4 separate regions of the Homo sapiens genome follow, and all the other regions are linked to region 4. The links are contacts of gene promoters, found by promoter capture Hi-C in blood cells and fetal thymus (Javierre and others, 2016). All regions are on one chromosome and are shown on one strand. Each heading gives the region's core, a stretch centred on a gene start or on the middle of the fragment in contact. The rest is flanking DNA. Distances are from core to core; before and after follow the strand shown. Region 1 overlaps MBTD1 (mbt domain containing 1). Region 2 overlaps MBTD1 (mbt domain containing 1). Region 3 overlaps MBTD1 (mbt domain containing 1). Region 4 holds the start of WFIKKN2 (WAP, follistatin/kazal, immunoglobulin, kunitz and netrin domain containing 2).

The links. Contacts are between HindIII fragments. The CHiCAGO score rates a contact against its expected background, and 5 or more counts as called.
Region 1: a fragment that was not itself captured here is called in contact with the fragment with the promoter of WFIKKN2 in region 4 in 1 of 17 cell types (neutrophils); the score reaches 7.5 in neutrophils.
Region 2: a contact is called between a fragment that was not itself captured here and the fragment with the promoter of WFIKKN2 in region 4, in 2 of 17 cell types (neutrophils and activated CD4 T cells). The highest score is 8.0, in neutrophils.
Region 3: a fragment that was not itself captured here is called in contact with the fragment with the promoter of WFIKKN2 in region 4 in 2 of 17 cell types (neutrophils and activated CD4 T cells); the score reaches 5.8 in neutrophils.

What each region holds. Positions count from the first base shown.
Region 1 is chr17:51,225,270-51,228,671 of GRCh38, reverse strand. All of the region lies in intron 2 of MBTD1 (mbt domain containing 1), which reads left to right. Among named protein-coding and RNA genes, the nearest start is that of MBTD1, 33 kb to the left of the region's middle. The HindIII fragment of the contact is 9,545 bases long and covers 1-3,402 here.
Region 2 is chr17:51,181,505-51,184,797 of GRCh38, reverse strand. All of the region lies in intron 16 of MBTD1 (mbt domain containing 1), which reads left to right. Among named protein-coding and RNA genes, the nearest start is that of NME2, 17 kb to the right of the region's middle. The HindIII fragment of the contact is 5,892 bases long and covers 1-3,293 here.
Region 3 is chr17:51,199,329-51,202,706 of GRCh38, reverse strand. It overlaps MBTD1 (mbt domain containing 1), which reads left to right. Exons shown (of 17, transcript NM_017643.3): 10 at 1-6; 11 at 630-685; 12 at 1,011-1,115. Among named protein-coding and RNA genes, the nearest start is that of NME2, 35 kb to the right of the region's middle. The HindIII fragment of the contact is 4,729 bases long and covers 1-3,378 here.
Region 4 is chr17:50,833,154-50,836,891 of GRCh38, reverse strand. It overlaps WFIKKN2 (WAP, follistatin/kazal, immunoglobulin, kunitz and netrin domain containing 2), which reads right to left and starts at 1,306. Exons shown (of 2, transcript NM_175575.6): 1 at 745-1,306. The coding sequence starts at 954. RefSeq lists an enhancer at 3,594-3,738. The HindIII fragment of the contact is 3,752 bases long and covers 1-3,420 here.

The DNA of each region.
Region 1 (3,402 bases), core at 426-2,925, 390 kb before region 4:
CCCAAAGTGCTGGAATTACAGGCGTGACCCACCGCGCCCAGCCTCCCAATTTTTTTTTTTTTTTGTCCTTTTTATTGTCTCCTATTTTCTTTTCACTTCTCACAAAGCCTGTAGTTATGCAATTTATTTTGGAAATGGTTAGAGTAGCAATATTAGTTTTGTCTTGTTTTTTTTTTTTTTTCGTGGTTTGAATGAGGCAACATCTTGGAGGAGACATAAGACCAGCATTCACTAAAGATGATATAACTTCTTTGTATCTTTCTTTGAAAAGGAAATTTTTTTAATACTTCTATTTTAAGTTCATGGGTACTTGTGCAGGTTTGCTACGTGGGTAAATGTGTGTCATGGGGGTTTGTCGAACAGATTATTTCATCACCCAGATACTAAGCCTAGTAGCCTAGTACTCATTCGTTATTTTTCCTGGTCCTCTCCCTCCTCCCACCCTCTACCCTCCAATAGGCCCCAGTGTCTGCTGTTTCCTCTATGTGTCCATGTGTTCTCATCATTTAGCTCCCACTTATAAGTGAGAACATGTGGTATTTGGTTTTCTGAGGAAATACTGTTTAGCTTGAGAAAATTGGGTTGGGTTTTAAACCATTGTTTATGTTTTTTTAAAAACTGAATAAATATATATGTAGAAATATTATCTCCTACAATTTCTGAAATATTTGCCATCTTAAAATTGTAAAAGGTAAAATTTTCTTTTTTTTTTTTTTTCTTGAGACGGAATCTTGCTCTGTCGCCCAGGCTGGAGTGCAGTGGTGCAATCTTGGCTGACTGCAACCTCTGCCTCCTGGGTTCAAGCGATTCTCGTGCCTCAGCCTCCCAAGTAGCTGGGACTACAGGCATGCACCACCACGCTCGGCTAATTTGTATATATTTTTAGTAGAGACGGGATTTCCCCACGTGGACTAGGCTGGTCTCAAACTCCTGACCTCAGGTGATCTCCCCGCCTCAGCCTCCCAAAGTACTGGGATTACAGGCGTGAGCCACTGCACCCAGCTGAAAGGCAAAATTTTCTGTTAGACCCTTCAGAGCTTTTAGCAGTGATTTTTTTTTTCTTTTCCAACATGATAAAGTATCAAGCAAAGTGGTTCTTGGTTTTGAGTTTGAGACAGGGTCTCACTCAGTCACCCAAGCTGAAGTGCAGGGGCACGATCGTGGCTCACTGCAGCCTCGACCTCCTGAGGTCAAGCTATCCTCCTACTTCAGCCTCCCAAGTAGCTGGGACCACAGGTGCAAGCCACCACACTTGGCTAATTTTTGTATTTTTTGTAGAGATGGAGTTTTGCCATATTGCCCAGGCTAGTCTTGAACTCCTGGGCTCAAGCAATCCACCAGCCTTGACTTCTCAAAGTACTAGGATTACAGATGCGAGCCACCATGCCCAGCCAGCAAAGCAATTTTTTTTTTTTTTTTTTTTTTTTTTGGAGACAGAGTCTCGCTCTGTCACCCAGGCTGGAATGCAGTGGCTCAATCTCAGCTCACTGCAAGCTCCGCCTCCCAGGTTCATGCCATTCTCCTGCCTCATCCTCCCCAGTAGCTGGGACTACAGGCACCTGGCACCACACCCAACTAATTTTTTATATTTTTAGTAGAGGCGGGGTTTCACCGTGTTAGCCAGGATGGTCTCGATCTCCTGACCTTGTGATCCGCCTGCCTCGGCCTCCCGAAGTACTGGGATTACAGGCGTGAGTCACCGCGCCCAGCCCAAAGCAATTTTTAAAAACGTCTGTGTGTTGGCTGGGTGCGGTGCCTCACACCTGTAATCCCAGCACTTTGGGAAGCCAAGGCAGGCGATCACTTGAGGCCAGGAGTTCAATACCATCCTCACCAACATAGCAAAACCCCATCTCTACTAAAAGTACAAAAGTTAGCTGGGCATGTTGGCACTCACCTGTAGTCCCAGCTACTCGAGAGACTGAGGCACAAGAATCACATGAGCCTGGGAGATGGAGATTGCAGTGAGCTGAGATCATACCACTGCACTCCAGCCTGGGTGACAGAGCGAGACTCTGTCATCAAAAAAAGAAAGAAAAAAAGCATCCATATTTTCTGGATACTCCAAATTGGTCTAGAAGTTTAGTTTTAGAGATGAAAGGCAAATTTAAAAATCATGTTTGTTATGTATATTTCACCACGATTTTTATTTTATTTTATTTTATTTTTGAGACATGGTCTCTCTCTGTCACACAGGCTGGAGTGCAGTGGCATGATCTCAACTCACTGCAACCTCCACCTCCCAGGCTCTAGTGATCCTCCCACATAGCTGGGACTACAGATGCGTGCCACCACACTCAGCTAATTTTTGCATTTTTTGTAGAGTCAGGGTTTCGTCATGTTGCCCAGGCTGGTCTCAAACTCCTCAACTCCTCAAACTCCTCTGACCACCTCGGCCTCCCAAAGTGCTGGGATTATAGGAGTGAGCCACCATGCCTGGCCCACAATTATTTTTATATGGTTTTTTTGTTTTGTTTTGTTTTTTTGTGTTTTTTTTTGGTAGAGTGGGAGTCTCACCATGTTGCCCAGGCTGGTCTCAAACTCCTGGGCTCAAGCTATCATCCCACCTCGGCCTCCCAAAGTGCTAGGATTAGGCTGGGTGTGGTGCCTCACACCTGTAATCTCAGCACTTTGGGAGGCCGAGGTGGGCGGATCACCTGAGTTCAGGAGTTTGAGAACAGCCTGGCCAACATGGCAAAACCCTGTCTCTACTAAAAATACGAAAATTAGCTGGGTGTGGTGGCATGCACCTGTAATCACAGCTACTCAGGAGACTGAGGCAGGAGAATCACTTGAACCCAGGAGGCAGAGGTTGCAGTGAGCCGAGATTGTGCCACTGCACTCCAGCCTGGGCAACAGAGTGAGACCGAGTCTCAAAAAAAAAAAGTGCTAGGAATATAGGCATGAGCCACCACGCCCATCCCATAATTAAAAAGAAAAAAGAAATCTGGGCGAGGCACACTGGCTCACGCCTGTCATCCCAGTGCTTTGGGATGCAGAGGCAGGACATCCCTTGAGGCAGGGAGGTGGCTCACATCCATAATCCGAGCACTCTGGGAGGCTTGAGTGGGCAGATTGCTTGAGACGAGGAATTAAAGACCAGCCTGGGCAACATGGCAGAACCCCATCTCTACAAAAAAAAAAACACAAAAATGTTTATGGGATGGTGGCACTTGCCTGTAGTCCCAGCTACTCAGGAGGCCAAGGTGGGAGGATCATCTGAGTGCGGGAGGTGGAGGTTGCAGTGACCGAAGATTGTCACTGCACTCCAGCCTGGGTGACAGAGCGAGACTCTGTCTCAAAGCATTTTTTAAAAAAAGAAAAAAAAAAGAAAGAAAATGGTTATTTCTCAGGGCTGCGTTTTCATTTATCAAATCTCATTTACCAGAATTTGTGCTAGGG
Region 2 (3,293 bases), core at 253-2,752, 350 kb before region 4:
TAGTCTTGCATTACTTAATTAAGTATGGATATTGTGAGTTCCAAATATATTTGAGCTTTTATTGGATCTTGGATGTATTTTCTTTAAGCATGAGGCTGGTTTTGAAGATGTATGTCACATTTTGTGATAGGTTACTGATTCATTTAAAATGGAACTTCTGGCACTGGCAAAACCCAAGAATTTAGAGTAGACGAACTAGATGGAAACTACCTGGCATCCTATGTGACTTCCTTCTTCCACCGATGTCTATAGTATATTCTGAGCTGGGGCACAACTTGTGGGACTTGGTGTGATTTTTCTCTGATGAAACTAAGTAGGGACTACATTGCTACCTTAACTATCTGAAAGCTATGGTTTCATTAGCTGTTGAAAGAGTTTATTATTTATGGGCTTCGTAGCTGGAAAAATATGATTTCAGTTAGCTTATCTCCTGAAATGGTAGTGATTAGTGTCAACAAAGTGACTTCCTTCTAAAAACAGAGCTGAGAAAAGAAAAGGCATTTGTGTAGAAAGTGACATTCAACCACAGGATCTGTTTTATTTCATCCATCATTTATTGAGAAGGCCTGGAAAGGAGAAATGATTCATGTGAAGATAACCAGACAGGCTTTATTTTAGATTCCATGAAAACAGTGAAACTTTACATTAAAACATTGCACATCTGAGTGAGTGTTTCACCTTTATCTTGAGTGACTTTTTTTAGCACATCATTTTCATATTTTAACATGACTAGAAGCATAATCCAGAAATTTGTTGTTAGCAGTAATGCATATTGCTTCAAGATATGCTTTAGAATCTCAACTTACCTTTCTTACATTTTTTTAAAAAACATCCGTTTGAATGAAACATGTTTGATCTTGAAGCACATTAATTCTTTTCTCATTCATTTAGCCATCCAGTCATCATAGAACAAGATACTGTTTTAATCAACCTTTTATTGTGGGTACTGCACCTTTAATGAAACTTGGGTTTTGTTTTCTTTTCCATGTGTGTATTTTCTAGGTATTGTTAAAATGGCCCTCACGCTGAATGACTGCATGCTGGCTAGATTTGAAGGATAACTGTCATGCATTTGATATCATTCCTCATAAAAGCATTTTTATTTATATTAAGTAATTTTTTAATGAAAGGAAGAACTAACTGCACAGTCTTGTTTGCTGTACCTTTGAACAGTCTGATGGGTGTTTGCTATGATTATATGCATAACGTATTCACTTTTCTGTCTTTGGTCTGTTAAATTTTTGATCACCAGTACCAAAACCAGTACCAAATAAAATAAATTGCCATCTCTCAAAAGATTATTCTTGGCCAGGCGCAGTGGCTTACGCCTGTAATCCCAGCACTTTGGGAGGTTATCCCATGTGGGGAATCACCTGAGGCAGGTGAATCACCTGAGATCAGGAGTTTGAAACCAGCTGGCCAAAATGAGGAAACCACATCTCTACTGAAAATACAAAAATTAGCCAGGTGTGGTGGTGCACGCCTGTAAATCCCAGCTACTTGGGAGGCTGAGGCAGGAGAATCACTTGAACCTGGGAGGTGGAGGTTGCAGTGAGCCGAAATTGTGCCACTGCACTCCAGTCTAGGTGACAGAGCGAGACTATCTTAAAAAAAAAAAAAAAAAAAAAAAAGATTATTCTTTAAATTAGCAAGTAAGATGTCAGCAGCCATTATTTTTAAACTAATTGCTTGTAACTAAAATCAAGACATGGGCCAGGCACGGTGGCTCACGCCTGTAATCCCAGCACTTTGGGAGGCTAAGGTGGGAGGGTCACGAGGTCAGGAGTTCAAGACCAGCCTGACCAACATGGTGAAACCCCATCTCTACTAAAAAAATAAAGACATGAATTATTTTTCTGACTGTACTATTTGACTTTAAAAGTTGTAGCAATTTTAATATTGTTCCACATGATGACACTGCCATTGCTTCATGAAAAACTTAAGTGGCATACTACCTATCCAGATACTCTGCTGAGTTCTCATTCTCATCAGTTGATTTTTTTCTCTGTATGAGCAGTTTCCAATTTACACCCCATATATGTGTATCCTCTCCATTTATTAATGAAAAGATACATAATAGAGAAAAATGAAGAACTTTTACCCTTGATCTGGAGCCAGATGCCTGCAGGGGCTGGTGGTTACCTGTGTGAGTATTGTGGGCAACCTGGGCAGTGAGCTCTGTGGTGGACAGAGATCTCAGGCTGCCCAGATTCAGGGGGTAGTAAGTAGCCAGTCAGTTCCCATTGATCACAGCTCTTTAAGGATGCTGCGCTTATGTTTCCAAGTCTATCTACTTTTCAGATTTTCATGTGAAATCTCTTGTATCGAAATATTCAGTCAAATGTGTAAAGAACCATTCAAATGTATAAAGAGGCCAGGCGCGGTGGCTGACACCGTAATCCAAACACTTTGGGAGGCCAAGGTGGGTGGATCACATGAGGCTAGGAGTTCAAGACCAGCCCAGCCAACATGGCAAAACCCCATCTCTACTAAAAATACAAAAGAATTCGCCAGGCATGGTGGCACACACCTGTAATCCCAGCCACTCGGGAGGCTGAGGCATGAGAATCACTTGAACCCGGGAGGCAGAAGTTGCAGTAAGTTGAGATCATGCCACTGCACTCCAGCCTGGGTGATGGAGTGAGACTATGTCTCAAAAAAAAAAAAAAAAATGCACAGGGCCCAGGCAGGAGTGGAAAAAGCAGTTTCTGACTTCTGATTTAGCAGATCCGTGTATGCTAAAGAAGTTGGGAAAGAAGGTAGCATTGCTCAACACGGGACTAGATTCAAGTGGATGTGTTAGCACAAAAGACCACCTCATCTGTTCTTTAAATTATTTGAGCTCAACTTTGGTTAGACGGTAACCTGAACACAGCCAGGCGCTGTGGCTCACACCTGTAATCCCAGCACTTTGGGGATATGAAACTGAAAAACCGTTTTCCATACTAAAGACCTACGGAAACATGGCTATACTGTTAATTTGTTTTTGTTAAAAAGTAAGTCATCAGATAAGAACTCAGGCAGGCACTCAGCTTTGAACTGGCCTCCCGCCTTGTCCTCCTACATAGCTGGGACTGTAAGCATTAGCCACCACACTCGGCTCAGGAGTTTAATATTAGTTTTTCTTGGTAGGAGGAGAGGTACACAGGGTCTCACTCTGCCACTCAGGCTAGAGTGCAATGACACAATCATAGGTCACTGTAATCTCGAACTCCTGGGCTCCAGCAATCCTTCTGCCTCAGTCATGAGTAGCTGGGACTACAGGCTTGCACAGCCATACCCAGCTTTTTTTT
Region 3 (3,378 bases), core at 626-3,125, 370 kb before region 4:
GATCTGGTAAGCACCTATCACAAGAACTCCTGTCAAAAGCATCATTGAGGCTGATTATACTAGTTGGTTATTTTTCTCTGCAGAATTGCATAGATGAAAAATAGCATTCTAGTTGTTTGGGCTGCTTCTTCTACCTTAATTAGTGAAGGTTCACACCATATTAGTGTCCTAATAAATTTTTTTATATTCCTTCCACTTGTTCTCCAAAAGAAGGAACTTCTTCTGGTCACAACTATAATTGTTTCTTTCTTTTATTATTCAGCCCATTTGAAAGATCTAAAGATACCTTTCCCTTTCCATTCAATTTTAATCAAAATAGCAAGATTAAATGTGGTTAGACTTAATACTAAGCACATGAAAACATGCTTCTAAAGTTGTAATTTTCTAACTAGGGAATTACATTAAAATTATGAGCATTAAAATTGGCTGAATGTATTTAAAAGCATATATGCACATGTACTCTGAAGAGAGAAAAGACTATTAAAGAATATTCACCCCAAATGTAGAAGGCATGTCTTCTTGCCATGTTTTATAGTATGACATACTTTGTGAGTTTGAAGCCTTCAAAGAACGTGGTTTTTGGTCTTCTCACAAATGCTGACAGATTAGTGTGTAACTTTTCCTTGTAGATATTACAAAGAAACAGGATGGACATTTTGATACACCACCACATTTATTTGCTAAGGTAAGAAGTTTTTATAAGAACCCTCATTTGTAAATTAGGTTTGAAAGAGGGTTGTGGGTTTTTTCCTAAAATTACGGAAATCACAATTACATATGTTCACTTAAAAGAATTAAGACCTTGTAAATTCATAGGTGTCACAACTCTTTATTATAATTATTCTTAAATTCTATTTGTCTGAATTCTCTCTAAACCTTAATGGAAGTTTGAGTTATAATATTAGGTAGGTAGGAGAAGGCACCTGGTAAATCTTTTCACATTGGTAATATTTTAATTATCAAAATAACAACATTTGTAACAGTAGATGTGCTTTCATATAATTCTTTAGGTAAAAGAAGTAGACCAGAGTGGGGAATGGTTCAAGGAAGGAATGAAATTGGAAGCTATAGACCCATTAAATCTTTCTACAATATGTGTCGCAACCATTAGAAAGGTAAGATAATAGGTTTTAAAATATAGAAATGCAATTATAGGATTTGGGTATAAGCTAATAGAAGGAGTCCCCAAGCATATTCGTTTTGACATAAAATGTGTATGTGTATATCTTCACTGGGGAGAAGGTTGCTAGGAATTTCAAAATAAATTTGAATCCTCTGATCTTACATAGTTTATTGTCAAGATTGTCATTTTGAGTCTGCTACACTTATTTATGGAAGTATATCCTAATTTAGAGGAAAAATATTTATTTAAGTTACTTCTAGACAAGGCTAGTCCAATTCAGAATTGTAACAAGGCCAAGTTTATCTTCAGTTTCCTGTGTTTCCTCTTTAGGCCTTTTTCTTCCTTTTGGTAGTAGTTTTTGCTGCTTTTCTCTTTTCCCCCTCATCTGAAACTGCTCTTACAAAAAGACCTAGAAGAGAAATTCTTGGGTTTTTTGTTTGTTTGTTCATTTTTTTTTGAGACAGTCTCTCTCTGTCGCCTAGGTTGGAGTGCAGTAGTGTGATCACAGGCTCAAGTGACCCTCCCACTTCAGCCTTCAGAGTGGCTGGGATCACAGGTGTGTCCTATCATGCCTGGCTAATTTTCTTATTTTTATTTTTGTAGGTACAGGGTCTCCCTAGGTTGCCCAGGCTGGTCTCAGATTCCTGGGCTCAGGCAATCCTCCTAAAGTGCTAGGATTATAGGCATGAGCCACGGCACCCAGCATTTTTTTTTTTTTTAAAGACATGGTCTCACTCTGTCATCCAGGCTGGAGTGCAGTGGCATGATCTCAGCTCACTGCAACCTCTGCCTCCCAGGCTCAGGTGATCCTCCTGCCTCGGCCCCCTGAGTAGCTGGGATTACAGGTGCATGCCACCACGCCCGGCTAATTTTTGTATATTTTGTAGAGATGGGATTTCACCATGTTGCCTGGGCTGGTCTCGAATTCCTGGACTCAAGTAACCCACCTGCCTCAGCCTCCCACAGTGCTGGGATTACAGGCATGAGCCACCGTACGTGGCATTTTTTTTTTTTTTTTTTTTTTGAGATGGTATCTCGCCCTGTCACCCAGGCTGTAGTGCAATGGCGTGATCATAGCTCACCACAGCCTTGAGCTCAAGCAATTCTCCCACTTCAGCTTCCTGAGCAGCTGGTACTGCAGGCAGAAGCCACCACACCCAACCAGTTTTTTTGTTGTTGTTGTTTTCTTAGCAATGGGGTCTCACTGTTGCCCAGGATAGTCTCGAACTCCTGAGCTCAAGCAATTCTGCTGCCTCAGCCTCCTGAGTAGCTGGGATTACAGGCAGGAGCCACCTGCCTGGCTAACATTGGCATTTTTTTAAGGTCTCAGGTGAATATCATGTACAGCCATGGTCAAGAACCACCTAAGGAAAGTCTACTTACATAAAGGTGTAACTTAAATCGTGATTTGCATTTCAACAGTTTAAAACCTTCAGCTAAAAGAAAAACAATTATGATGGCCCAGGCATGGTAGCTCACACTTGTAATCCCAGCACTTTGGGAGGCCAAGGCAAGCGGATCACGAGGTCAGGATATCAAGACCATCCTGGCTAACACGGTGAAACCCTGTCTCTACTAAAACTACAAAAAATTTAACTAGGCGTGGTGGCACACACCTGTAGTCCCAGCTACTCAGGAGACTGCGGCAGGAGAATCACTTGAACCCGGGAGGTGGAGGTTGCAGTGAGCCAAGATGGTGCCACTGCACTCCAGCCTGGGTGACAGAGCGAGACTCTGTCTCAAAAAAAAAACAGAAAAAAAGAAAAAGGAAAACAATTATGATGGCTGCCATGTCACATGGTCAGACAGCTGGACAAGACTGGCTCCAAACCCTGTTCTTCCTCTTTTCCTCACTAGTGATCAGAATGACCCAATAAGATTTAAAACAGGCCGAGGGGGGCGAATCACAAGGTCAGGAGTTCGAGACCAGCCTGGTCAATATGGTGAGACCCCATCTTTACTAAAAATACAAAAATTAGCCAGGCGTGGTGGCGGGTGCCTGTAGTCCCAGCTACTCGGGAGGCTGAGGCAGAAGAATCACTTGAACCCAGGAAGGGGAGGTTGCAGTGAGCTGAGATCGCACCACTGCACTCCATCCTGGGCAACAAAGCAAGACTGTCTCAAAAAAAAAATTTTTTTAAAACAGTGATTCCTGAAACACCTTGATCATGTTAAAAAGAAAAAAAAAGGCTGGGCCCTTTTTTTATTACAATTACAGGTGGCTCACACCTGTAATTCCAGCACTTTAGAAGGGC
Region 4 (3,738 bases), core at 57-2,556:
CCTGCAGGGCACTCCTGCATGGTCCCCACCCTGTGGCTCCCACCCCCATCACTCACAGGCTCATATGGTCCATCTCTGGCTTCTGGACCCCACTCACCTGGTCCGCCTCACACTCCAGCTTCTGGATCCCACTCACCTGGTCCATCTCACACTGTGGCTTCTGGACCCCACTCACCTGGTCCACCTCATACTCCCACTTCTAGATCCCACTCACCTGGTCCGCCTCACACTCCAGCTTCTGGATCCCACTCACCTGGTCCATCTCACACTGTGGCTTCTGGACCCCACTCACCTGGTCCACCTCATACTCCCACTTCTAGATCCCACTCACCTGGTCCGCCTCACACTCCAGCTTCTGGATCCCACTCACCTGGTCCATCTCACACTGTGGCTTCTGGACCCCACTCACCTGGTCCGCCTCACACACCGGCTTCTGGACCCCACTCACCTGGTCAACCTCACACTCCCACTTCTAGATACCACTCACCTGGTCCATCTCACATTGCGGCTTCTGGACCCCATTCACCTGGTCTGCCTCACACTGTGGCTTCTGGATCCCACTCACCTGGTCCATCTCACACTCCTGCTTCCGGACACCACTCACCTGGTCCGCCTCACACTGTGGCTTCTGGACCCCACTCACGTTGTCCTCCTCACACTCCCACACAGTCCCTCCCCGACGGCTCCCACCCCCGTCACTCACAGGCTCACGTGGTCCATCTCTGGTCTCTGGACCCCACTCACCTGGTCCGTCTCACACTCCCGCCTGCAGGTGCTCTGTGCGTCCACCCAGAGGTTGGGATTCATGTCGTTGGGGCAGATGCCGGCGTGGGAATAGCGGATGGGCGGCAGCGCCAGGCTTCGCGGGGGCACCCCGAGCAGTAGCAGCAGCAGCAGCAGCGCTGCCACCTGCTCCCAGCGAGACCAGAACCGGCGACACCTTGGGGCCCACATGGTGCAGGCTGGGGCGGCTAGAGACCTCCCCTGAAACGATGCCAGGGTCTGGGGCCCACCAGGGCCTTCTTCTCAGGGGCTGCAGACACCTGCCCTCCCCACCCCAGCAGGTTTCCTGCTCAGGCTGCTGCTCAGGCTGCTCTGCCGCTGCTGCCTCCACCAAGTCAGCACAGCCTGCCGGGCTGTGCGGCTTCAGATAAAAGAAAGGTCTTTAGAAGGAAGCTCCCTCTCCTGAGTGTGCAGGGAGAGGAGCCACAGCAGGGGCCCGCGCCCGGATTTATATCCTGGGCGCGCCACCCGAGTGGGAGCCAGCTAACCTGATGCCTGTCACAGGCAGGCTGCTGGCGCCTCTGTCCCGTGGCTGATCACAGACTTATTGCAGAAGGGGGGAAAAAAAAAAAAAGAAGCTGGAAGCAGTTTAGGCAGCGTATCTGGCACGGTGGGACACCTGCTTGTTTTTGACTCCAGGAGGCCTTTAACCCCTTCAAGGGCCAGAAATGGCATGTGCTTTGCGGGGAGCTGGCTCCAGGACACGCAAGCTCACTCTGAAGGAGGGCTTGTTTCCCTTTCCCCCACCTCCTTGGGGCCGGGCCCCCTCCTCCCCTTTGGCCACCTCTAAAGAACACACAATCGCTTGTTACGAGGAGGGACCTGCAGCCACCGGGTTAGCATCGCCCGGCTTGATAGTACATTTGAGAGCAAATGACGTGGAAAAACAACAAGTTCACGGCCATTCCAGGGCGGGCCTGCGCCGCGCTGTGCCCTGTAAGCCGACTCCCACCCCGGCCCCGGCCCTTTGTGGGGGGTGTGCGCACGGACAGCTCTGTATCTCTGTGTCCAGGGCAGTTTGCGTCTTAAGTTCCAACTTCAGTTAATTTTCCCCAAATCATTCCAGAGACACATACCAGATATGCTCTGGCCCCGCCGGCGGCTGGGACGGATCACATTCCTCCCTCTTCCATCGACACACCGAGAAAACCTCCGCGGTCACAGTGTCTCAGGATTGTGCCGGAGTCCAGCTGCCCTCGCTGACGACCACAGTGGCTGCTCTTCAGTGAGCTCCTTCTGACTGCCAGCCTTGTCTGGCCTCCCCCACTTCCCAAAGGAGAAGGTCTGTGGTCGAAGAGGGCGAGCGACTTGTCCAAGGTCGCACAGAGTGAGCAGTCCTGGTGGTACCAGCTGCCAGATGCACTGGGCTCTTCACACGTGTGGCTTCTCTGAACGCATCATCTCATTTAATCCTCACAACAAACTGCACCTCCATTTCAGATCGGAGGAAAGGACGCACAGAGAGGCTAAGCAACCTGCCCATGTCGCACAGCTACCCCACCACGGTACAGGAAACAGGGACACCAGCTTGCTGGGTGTGGGCAGGGGCCTTTTAAAATCACCCCTCCCCCATCCATCTGCCAGAACTGCTGTCAAGGCACAGCCCAAACTCTGGTTTTCACAGACTGGACAAGAAATTTTTGAAACATCAGGGGCTATATTTGTGGAGGGGCCGGGAAGAGAGCCAGAAGCTGCCAGGGGCTGGGGGCGATTCCTCCCCCATTTGGCAGCAAATGGCTTCTATCTAAAATGCCACAGAGCAGCCTGCAGTCTGAGTGTTTTCGAGTTGGTCACTCGATCCTGGGGGTAGGGGGCGGAGGCACATAGAGCCCCGAAAGAGAGGTACCTTTCCAAGGCCAAACCACAAGGGCCTTGAGGAGCTGCTGTGTCCCGGGGACAGTAGGTGGAGTGGCCCCCACACGCATCAGATACGGAAGGGATCCTGAAGGTAATCTCGCTTTACAGCTAAGGAAACTGAGGCCTGAGCCCAGGCCGCTCCTTCCCCACGTCCACTTTCCCCTTCAAGAACACAGCTCGCCATCTCACAGGACTGTAAAACGGCCACGGGACCCTCGCTTCCACACCCAGACCCTTCCCCTTCCCAGCCGGGCGGGTGCTGCCTTCTCCCCGCCTGAGCTGGTCCCTTCCCGTTGTGCGGCCATTCTGCAGGATCTGTCTTTTCTGCTTATGTCAAATCGCTAATGAAGGGTGTCAGATCCTAATCCTCTAAATTATTGGAATAAACTTCCCTTCGAGGCCAGTCCCCGTAATGAAGCCAGACAGCGGGCGACGCCGGCTGCTTTGAATTCCCCGTAATTTCATCAGCCCGTGTTCCAGCTGCTCCGCGCGGGGGCCTTCACACAGCCCTTGGACAAACGCGGTTTGCGCAGCCTCCTTTGATAGCACAAAGGGACATGGACAGTGACACATTTATAAGCAGGACTTAGAAAAACTGTCACAGCCCCATTAGGCCAGGACAAGTATCCAAGGAGAGGAGGCCGATTTCTGGGCAGTCCCAAGAGACCATTAGAGGGTGTGGGAGAGATGAGAGGGGGTCGGAGGAGGGGAGGCACCGAGCAGAGGTTGGGGGGTGCTGAGGAGGGCAGGAGAGGGGCACACGGCAGGGCAGGGGAAGCTTGGCCATCCTACCCCCACTCCTGGGGCTGATGGAGAAAGCCCCCACACCCAACCTGGTCCTGTCTCAAGCCACGGACTTCTCCTTCCCGGGCCCCATTCCTGGACGTTCTACTCTGAGAACTCTCAAAGCAGCATCGGGAAAGAGAGGAGCCCAAAGCACTCTGACTCTCCCTCCAGCCCTTCCAAGTCTCCCACCAAAACACAGCTCAGAATAATAAATAACATCTGATCGGCCTGGAGCCCACACAGTGTTTTCACCTGCACGTTGCTGCTGACCCCACGGCAGCCCCAGGAGGGAGCTCCCTAGCGCGGGAGAGG